Linked DNA regions of Homo sapiens: region 2 is linked to region 1. Evidence: promoter capture Hi-C in 16 types of primary human blood cells and fetal thymus (Javierre and others, 2016). All regions are on one chromosome and are shown on one strand. Each heading gives the region's core, a stretch centred on a gene start or on the middle of the fragment in contact. The rest is flanking DNA. Distances are from core to core; before and after follow the strand shown. Region 1 holds the start of AMN (amnion associated transmembrane protein). Region 2 overlaps RCOR1 (REST corepressor 1).

What was found. Contacts are between HindIII fragments. The CHiCAGO score rates a contact against its expected background, and 5 or more counts as called.
Region 2: a contact is called between a fragment that was not itself captured here and the fragment with the promoter of AMN in region 1, in 1 of 17 cell types (total B cells). The highest score is 5.3, in total B cells.

Annotation. Positions count from the first base shown.
Region 1 is chr14:102,919,963-102,924,845 of GRCh38, forward strand. AMN (amnion associated transmembrane protein) reads left to right here and starts at 2,701. Exons shown (of 12, transcript NM_030943.4): 1 at 2,701-2,769; 2 at 3,749-3,867; 3 at 3,973-4,017. The coding sequence starts at 2,727. RefSeq lists silencers at 2,925-3,124, 4,288-4,486. The HindIII fragment of the contact is 27,416 bases long and covers 1-4,883 here.
Region 2 is chr14:102,698,122-102,703,122 of GRCh38, forward strand. It overlaps RCOR1 (REST corepressor 1), which reads left to right. Exons shown (of 12, transcript NM_015156.4): 4 at 3,157-3,209. Among named protein-coding and RNA genes, the nearest start is that of TRAF3, 77 kb to the right of the region's middle. The HindIII fragment of the contact is 4,983 bases long and covers 390-5,001 here.

The DNA of each region.
Region 1 (4,883 bases), core at 1,451-3,950:
CCATTCACCATCCACCATCACCTTCCATCCATCTACCATCCATCATCCACCATCCATCCCCATTCACCATCCACCATCACCTTCCATCCATCCACCATCCATCATCCAACATCCATCTATCCCCATTCACCATCCACCATCACCTTCCATCCATCCACCATCCATCATCCACCATTCATAACGCACCACCCATCTATCCCAATTCACCATCCACCATCACCTTCCATCCATCTACCACTCATTCATTCACCATTCATTTATCCACCGTCCATTCATGCATACATCCACCATCCATCTATCCACCATTCATCCATCCACCATCCACTCCCACTATCCATCCATCCACCATCTATCCATCCACACATTCACCATCCACCCATCCACAACCTACCATCCATTCATCCACCATTCACTCATCCACCATCCATTCTCCACCATCCATCTACCCATCCATCCCTCTACCCATTCACATATCCACCATCCACTCATCCATCATCCACAATTCACTCATCCAGCGTCCATTCATCCATCCACCCATTCACACATCCACCCATCTACCATCCACCATCCCTTCATCCACCATCCACCCATCATTCACTCACCCACCATCCACCATCCATCCATCCACCCATCTATATGTCCATTCACCCATTCGCCATCCACTCATCCACCACCCACCATTCATCTATCATCCCTCATCCACTGTCTACCATCCACCATTCATCCATCCACCCATTCACCCATCCACCATCCATCCATCCACCATCCACTTATCCACAATCTGCCATCCACCATTCGCCATTCATCCATCCATTCATCCACCACCCATCACCATTCACATCCACCATCGGCCATTCACCATCCACCATCCACCATCCACCTATTCACCATCCACCATTCACTCATTCACCACCCATCCTTCCATCCACCCACCATCCACCACCCACCATCCACCAACCACTATTCATCTTACCATCCACCATCCACCATCTATCATCCACTATCTACCATCTGCCGCCCATCCATCCACTTAATATTCACCATCTACTCATCACCATTCACTTGTCCATTATCCACCACCCACCAACCATCATCCACCTACCATCCATCATCCACCATTTATCCATTATCTACTTATCTACCATCCATTACCCATCCATTTATCATCCTATCCACCATCTACTATCCACCCATTATCCACTATCCACTGTCTATTCACTATCCACCATCTATTCACTATCCACCGTCCATCTCCATCCACAATTCACCATTTATGCAACCATCATCCACCATCTATCCATTTACCATCTATCTATTCACCATCCACCATCCATCCATTCAGCATTCATCACTCACCAAACATCCACCATTTAACACCCACTTTTTTTTTTTTGAGATGGGGTTTCACTCTTGTTGCCCAGGCTGGAGCACAGTGGCGTGATCTCCGATCACCACAACCTCCGCCTTCCAGGTTCAAACGATTCTCCTGCCTTAGCCTCCCAAGTAGCTGGGATTACAGGCATGTGCCACCATGCCTATCTAATTTTGTATTTTTAGTAGAGATGGGGTTTCTCCATGTTGGTCAGGCTGGTCTCGAACTCCCGACCTCAGGTGATCTGCCCGCCTTGGCCTCCCAAAGTGCTGCGGTTACAGGCGTGAGCCACCGTGCCCCGCCAACACCCACTCTTTATGATCTACCTGTCGGCCATGTATCCATTTATGCCATTATCCATCCACCACTCCCTGATTACCATCCATTCCTTTTCCTTTTTTTTTTTTTTTTTTTGAGACGGAGTCTCGCTCTGTCGCTCAGGCTGGAGTGCAGCGCACGATCGTGGCTCACTGCAAGCTCCACCTCCTGGGTTCACGCCGTTCTGCCTCAGCCCCCCAAGTAGCTGGGACTACAGGCGCCTTCTACCATGCCCGGTTAATTTTTTTGTATATTTTTAGTATAGACGGGGTTTCACCGCGTTAGCCAGGATGGTCTTGATCTCCTGACCTCGCGATCCGCCTGCCTCACCCTCCCAAAGTGCTGGGATTACAGGCATGAGCCACCACGCCCGGCCATTCATTCATTTTTCACTCACCATCCTCATCCATCCATTCATCACCCATCCACCCTCTATCACTCACCATCCACCCCGTCAACCATTTACCATTCATCTGCCATGCGTCCATATGCCGTACACCATGCACCATCAATGTTGCTGTCCATCAGCTGTCCCCTACTCACCATCCACTACTCTCCACCATCATCCACAATCCACCCTCCTATACCATCCACATACCATGTTCCATCCAGGATCTTCCTTCTATCATCCAACCACCACCCACAGCCCATGGGACAGGGGCACTGCGTGGAGAAGTGGACACCCAGTTCCAATGGTGAGCAGACTAGCTCAGCCCTAGCAGCACACAGGACAGAGAAAGGGGTGAATTCAAAGGTCGTTTATTCCCCCTCCCGGCAAGACACCCATTTTACAGGGTAGGTCAGTCTCGCCAAGCCCTTCTTCTTTGCCCTTCTTCCTGAGAACCTAAGGTGTTCAGGCCCTGCAGGGGCGGGTAAGGGGAGGCTGAGAAGGTGCCTCCCAGGGGCCTGAAGAGTCGGCCCTGGGCGGGTCTGGAGGTAAATGTGTAACCGACCCTGGTGCCCCCACCCGACCTGCCTGGTCACGTGGGTCCAGTGGGGCAAAGTCTCCTGGTGGGGTGCAAGGAGCCGAGGCGAGATGGGCGTCCTGGGCCGGGTCCTGCTGTGGCTGCAGCTCTGCGGTGAGCCGGGACCACACCGGTGCGGGCCCGGACGGTAGCGGTCTGTCAGGACCCAGGGCCGAGGTCGCTCTAGGCCTGGAGGGTGAAGATCTTCCGAGGAGTGGGCAGGGAGGGCTTTGGAGGGTTGGGGGCGTGAAACTCGGCCCTGCCTCCCTCGTCTGGCGAGTGCGCAGCCCGGAAGTGCGCGGCCAGTGCATCGGGCGGTGCGGGAGAGGAGAGGAGGGGCTCCGGGAACCTCGGCCAGCCCCGGCCTCCGGCGGCTCCTGCCCTCGCGGTTTTTCCGTCTGCGAAATGGGCGCGGTCCCCAGAACCTGCCGAGAGCAGCGAGTGTGCGCCTGCGGGGCTCGGCAGACCGCCTCAGCTTCCCGGTCCCCAAGGGAGCACTGAGCCCTCCTCCGCCTTCACACCAGGCCGGCGCGTGTCCCTGGCGCCCCCTTCCCTAAACCCCTCGCGGCTCCCTCAGGACAACCCCACCCACCACATTCAGGGCCGGCCTGACCTGGTCCTGCCGCCCCCAGCCCCTTCTTACTTCTCATACCGGGTTGCGCTCTGTCGCAGCTCTTCCCGGCCCAGGTAGGACTCCTCCGGGAAGCCTTCCTGATTCCAAGGCCGAGAAGAGGTCTGTGCTGCCCCATCCTCCTCCATGCCCCAGTTGTCACTGTCCTTAACAACGCTGTCCTCTGCTCCAGCGCCAGGCAAACTGGGGGCAGTGCCGGGAGGCTATCTAGGCAGGCGTCCTGCAGGGCGCGTTTGAGCGGGCTCTGCAGGTATCAGTAGAAGTCCGTTGGAGAGCGCCCGGGCAGGGCGCCCACAGTCTGGCCGGGAGGGACCAGGGTCTGGGTCCGGGCCCCCGGGGATGGGGTTCCTATGCGTCCCGGGTGATCCGCGCGGACCTTCCGCACTTCTCTGGGTGGGTGGCCTTCCCTGAGAAGGGAGCATCCCGGAGAGCATCCCGGGCACTCAGTCGCCTCCTCCCCAGCACTGACCCAGGCGGTCTCCAAACTCTGGGTCCCCAACACGGACTTCGACGTCGCAGCCAACTGGAGCCAGAACCGGACCCCGTGCGCCGGCGGCGCCGTTGAGTTCCCGGCGGACAAGGTGCCTGGGAGCGCCGGCGGGGTCGGTGATGGGCCTGGACCCCTGAGACCGTGTGGCCCCGGTGGGGGTTGCTCCCGGCTCGGCTGAGGCAGCTTCTTCCTGCAGATGGTGTCAGTCCTGGTGCAAGAAGGTCACGCCGTCTCAGACATGGTAAGGCCGGGCTGCTACTGCCACTGGGCTGGGGGTTCACAGAGTCTCTGAAGCGCCTTCAGGGACTGCTGTGCCTTGAGGGCGGACCCCACCGGCATGGAGGCACTGCAGGACTGGGACTTTGGCCTCTGGAGAATATTCTAGGAGGCAGGGAGTGGGGGGGAACCTAGGGGAGCTTGGTCCCATGGTCCCAGCCAGGCTGTGTCCTGGGAGGGATGGGAGGCACCCCTGTCCCCACAGCCCTTGTGATGCCCAGCAGTGGGTGGTCTTCCCAGGAAGCGCCTGCTCCATGCCCTTCCCCCAAAGCCTTGCCTTGTCCTGGTGCCTAAAGCTCCATCTTTAGAACACTAGGGAAAGTGTCCCCAACACCCCCCCCTCTACCCACCATCCGGGTCCCTGGCCTGTTAGGAAGTGGCCGCCCAGGAAGAGGCGAGCCCACTCCTGCCTGGCTCTGCCTCCCTTCAGATCAGATCAGATTCTCCTAGGGACCCCTATTGTCACTGCGCCAGCGAGGGGCCTGGGTGGGTGTGCACTCCTTAAGTGGCTGACATCTGAGATGGGACAGCTTAATCCTGAAACCTTCCCCACTCCCATCAGTCCATGGAAGAACTGTCTTCCACAAAACTGGTCCCTGGTGCCAAAAAGGTTGGGGACTGCTGCCCTAGGGGACCTTTTTCTCAAACTGCTTCACACAACACTCCAAGAACATGATGGGAACTGGGAGGAAAGCGGGTTCCATGAGTAGGTAAGTTTGGGAAATGCTGCAGCCTGCACTTTCCTGGAGCTTCATCACGTATTAAAGGCTCTGATAAGGCCCCAGAGAAAGAAGCTAATTTCCTTGTTTAAGGTGGAGTTCCGCAAGCTAC
Region 2 (5,001 bases), core at 1,631-4,130, 220 kb before region 1:
CATTCGGGATCTACTGTTACTGTCTTGTTGTTCCTGTCACCAGCTGATTCTTAAGATATAAAGCAAAAGAGGAGTTGAAAATGGAGTAGCATTCAACAAATGCTTGTGTGTGTCTTAAAATTTGTAGCTAAATCTGGTTGCAGACAGTGGGCACAGGCATTACAGGCCTTGTTACTGATGTAGCAGGAGGGACTCTGAGCAGATAACATATGCCCAAGAACCACAGGCAGGACTAGCCCCTGTGCTGGGCCACTCCAGGGACTCCTGCATCACTTTTTCAGCCTGTGCATGTGTTTGCTCAAAGATCGTGCTACTGGTGATCATACATACATTCCTTACTCAGTTAAGGTAGATAATAGTGTGCTCTGAGACTTGAGATTTACAGCAGAAGCTTAAGGTTCATTTGTTGTTCATTCACCAAGTATTTATTAAAGGAAGGAACCCTTCAAGCCAGTTTTAAACAAGCAGACCTTCTCCAGAGTTGACCCTCAATTTACCGCAGATTGTTTTCGCCTTCTGTCCTTACATATTCCTGAGTGCATCTCATGACCTGGTTTTTAATCAGCTGGCCTGCTGTCTGTTTCTAGGTCTGGTATGCTGCCATTTGCATCTCATCTCCTCCAGTATGAACCCCCATATTACCTGTGTCTCTCTGCAGGGTTCTGGCCAGGTATACAGAACCACCTGTTCGAGCAGCCTCATCTGACATTTTTTAGAATCTGAGAGCACTTTTATTTGGCATAATCTAATGTATTGTGAAGGAAAAAGCAAGGGACACACTTTGGAGTAATTCCCTGCCCTGCCTTTTTTTTTTTGAGATGAAGTCTTGCTCTGTCACCAAGGCTGGAGTTCAGTGGCACGATCTTGGCTCACTGCAACCTCAGCCTCCCAAGTAGCTGGAACTACAGGCATGCGCCACCACGCCCAGCTAATTTTTGTATTTTTAGTAGAGATGGGGTTTCACCATGTTGGCCAGGATGATGTTGATCTCTTGACTTCGTGATCCACCTGCTTTAGCCTCCGGAAATGCTGGGATTACAGGCGTGAGCCACCGCGCCTGGCCTCTGCCCTGCTTTTTAAAATCACCAGTTATACTTTTGTGACAAGCTATGGTCATTTCATTTGTCATTTGCTGACCTTCAAGTAAATTGAAATTTTACTGTAATCTGAGTGAAGTAACCAGTTTGTAACTATTTTAAATATTAAATCGGAAATTAGTGGCTTAGTATTAGAATTAATATTGAGCTGCAGTATATAATTAGTTATTGTTTGAATTAGGTTGACTTTTTCTTTTGTCAATGGAATATTTTTCCCCAATTTTTAGAATACATGCTTCTATAAGAGTTGGAATTCTTTTTCAAAATTGATTTCTGTTTCCTAAATTGGTTGACAGTTCTCCCAGAGCTGGGAGCATGCTTTTGGTATAATCGCATGGCAAACTAAGTTGTAGAAGCTCAGACTTTTATTAGGACTCCTCTGTTTACTCTTTGTGTCATAGTGGGAAAGTGGATCACTCTGAGCCTGTTTTCTCTAAGTTTGGCCATTGTACCTAGAGAGTAAGATTTAGGAGCCAAGAGGGAATAGGGGCTAGTCAGGATTTTACTGCCTACTTCATACAGTTCTATGCTCCTTGATTTTTTTTTTTTTTAGCTTGTGTTGTTGTTATTTTTTTAATTCATAAAGGAAAATCATGCATGAACATATGGCAGTGCTATTGACTAGTGCATTATTTTTTCTTGTACACTTGGGAAGAAAGACTAGAATATCCTCAGGGAGGAAATTGATTCATCTTTGGGGGTGGCAGCTTCTCCTAGAGGTTGAGTCAATTCATTTTCCTTGGTATTTTCCATGGTTCTTGAAAGCTAGCCACCTTATATTGGAGTAGTACATATTTGAAAGCAAATACCAAGCACTGGGTCACGTAATCTATCTCTTAAGAATTTTTTAAAACATAAAGAATAGTTTGTTCATTATTCAACCTGAGCTGAAACTAAAAATGACGCCCAATTTCATATTTCTTTTTACTGCTAGACATGTTGTTTAAAGTAGTACTTGTTTGTTGTAGAAAGTTTTAAGTAGAACTAAAGATTTTGTCTTCCTTTTCCCTTTTTCTTTTTTTGAGACAGAGTCTTGCTCTGTCACCAGGCTGGAGTGCAGTGGTGCAATCTTGGTTCACTGCAACCTCTGCCTCCCGGGTTCAAGCGATTCTCCTGCCTCAGCCTCCCAAGTAGCTGGGATTACAGGCATGTGCCACCACACCTGGCTAATTTTTGTATTTTTAGTAGAGATGGGGTTTCGCCATGTTGGTCAGGTTGCTCTCGAACTCCTGACCTCAAAGTGATTCGCCTGCCCTAGCCTCCCAAAATGCTGGGATTACAGGCATGAGCTGCAGCATCCAGCCCTGACTAATTATTTTTAAAAATTATTTGTAGAGACAGGATTTCACTATGTTATCCAGGCTAATCTAGAACTCCTGGCCTCAAGGGATCCTCCCGCCTCAGCTTTCCGAAGTGTTAGGATTACAGGCATGAGCCTTTGTTTTTCTCTTTTAAAGAAGACTCATAATCTCATCACCAGGTGATACTGCTGTTAATATTTGAGAATATTCATTCAGACGTTTCTCTGCAGGATCAATAACTATTATAATGGTTCTGTTTTGTTACTGTGTGTTCTTTATTTTTAGTCTTGTACAGGACAAGTGTATTAGTCCGTTTTTATGCTGTTGGTAAAGACATACCCGAGACTGGGAAGAAAAAGAGGTTTAATGGACTTAGAGTTTCACATGGCTAGGAAGGCCTTACAATCATGGTAGAAAGCGAGGAGGAGCGAGGAGCAAGTCATATTTTACATGGATGGCGGCAGGCAAAGAGAGCTTGTGCAGGGAAACTCCCCTTTTTAAAACCATCAGATCTTGTGAGACTTACTAACAGGAGAATAGCACAGGAAAGCCCATCCTCCATGATTCAGTTACCTCCAGTTGGGTCCCTCCTACAGCACTTGGGAATTGTGGGAGATACAAATCAAAATGAGATTTGGGTGGGGACACAGCCAAACCATATCAGCAGGCCTGAAATATACACGTATATCAATTCTAGCAGACCATAGGGTGTACTCTGTCCCTCAGTTTGTTTAATGGCATCTCTTCTTGTTTTTCAGTGGATGAATACATTGCCATTGCCAAAGAAAAGCATGGGTACAACATGGAACAGGTAATATCATGGTTTTCTTTCTTTTGCTGTTAAAAAATGAGTATTTGTAACTAAATAATTATATTTTTTTCTTCTTTGTATTGAGTAGCAGTGTTTCTTCATTAGCAACTTTTTGGTAATTACTAGTAGTGTTACACAAACTCTGGTCTTCTTTTTCTTGTTCAAGATGAATATTAGAGGACCCTTTGATTTGAAAGGCATATCTGTCATCTGCAGATCTACAGCCTTTAGGACACTGATTACTTAGTGATTACTAAGGAGCTGGATGCTTGAGCATAATGCTTTCTCATTTGAATATGTGATTTGTTTGTCATTCTTCTGGTTGTATCATGATGTTTTTTGACGCATGTTTTCACATTCTTACCTAAAGTGTTTTAATATTCACCATTTTGAATCATTTTCAGTTTGAGATGGAGTCTCGCTCTGGTGACCAGGCTGGAGTGCAGTGGCGCATCTCAGCTCATTGCAACCTCTGCCTCCGGGGTTCAAGTAGTTCTCGTAATTCTCGTGCCTCGGCCTCTCAAGTAGCTGAGATTACAGGTGCACACCACCACGCCTGGCTAATTTTTGTATTTTTAGTAGAGAAGGGGCCTCCCAAAGTGTTGGGATTACAGGCGTGAGCCACTGCGCCTGGCCAAGATTTTCTTTTAAATATTGTTTGGAATGTACTAATAAGAAATCCACAAGATTTATTTTTCTGCAAAAGTGTGGTGATACCTTATTTCAGCTTTAATGATTTATTTTAAACACATCAAGTTGGATTAATGCTTTCCATGGCATTAATCTAGATCTTACAACCTGGAAGTTACTGACATTTCTTATTTTTCTGAATGATGGAAGTTACCAAGAGTTTAGATTATGTGAAATTGTACCCTTTCTTTTGGACTTGGCCTTACATTTAATTACTCTATCCTGGTCATTGAAGCTACTTTTGATTGCAAAATATACCTGTATGAATTCTTAAGGATGGTAGTCTTGATCATTTCTCCTTTAAAAATGATCATTAGCATGAAAATTTCCTATATTATAATTCCAGCATAAAAATTACCATTAGCAAAGTATTGCTGGATCTCATCTTACCTCTTTTGTTGCTTATTCTATTTCTACTTTTTTTCTTTCTAAGCTGAGAAGACCTTTATATATCATATATATAACATATAAATATATATAATTTTTAAAATAAAAGAATAACAGCAATTGTTCTTTCATAAATTACTTTTTTCATTTATATATTGAGGCAGTAAAGTGTGATACTTGAAGAGCACAGATCCTAGAACTATGCTGGTTCTGTGACCAGAGGCAGGGAAAGGCAGTGCCTCAGAGAAGACCTTCAGTTTATACTCAGGCTGATCCTCACAATGGAGGCAAGCCTACAACCAAAAGAAAACAAAACTGTAGTAAAAACATAGCAAACCCTGAGGAAGAGTGTGATTATGAGTTTACTACATTATTAGATTCAGATGTCCAGGTTTTAACAGAAAAATCACAGAGCATACAAAGAAATGGTAAAGTATGCCCATTCAGTAGAAAAAAATTAATCAACAGAAACTGTCCCTGGGAAAAGACCTTAGTGGCAGATCTACTAGGCAAAGATTTTAAAACAACTATCTTAAAGATGTTTTTAAAGAACTAATGGAAGATACAGAAAAAATCAAGAAAATGATGTATGAACAAATGGAAATAACAGTAAGGAAATGGAAAACCTGAAAGGAAACCAAAATGAAATTCTAGACCCTAAACACTTGAAATGAAAAATTCACTAGACGTGCTCAAAGGCAGATTGGAAGAGTCT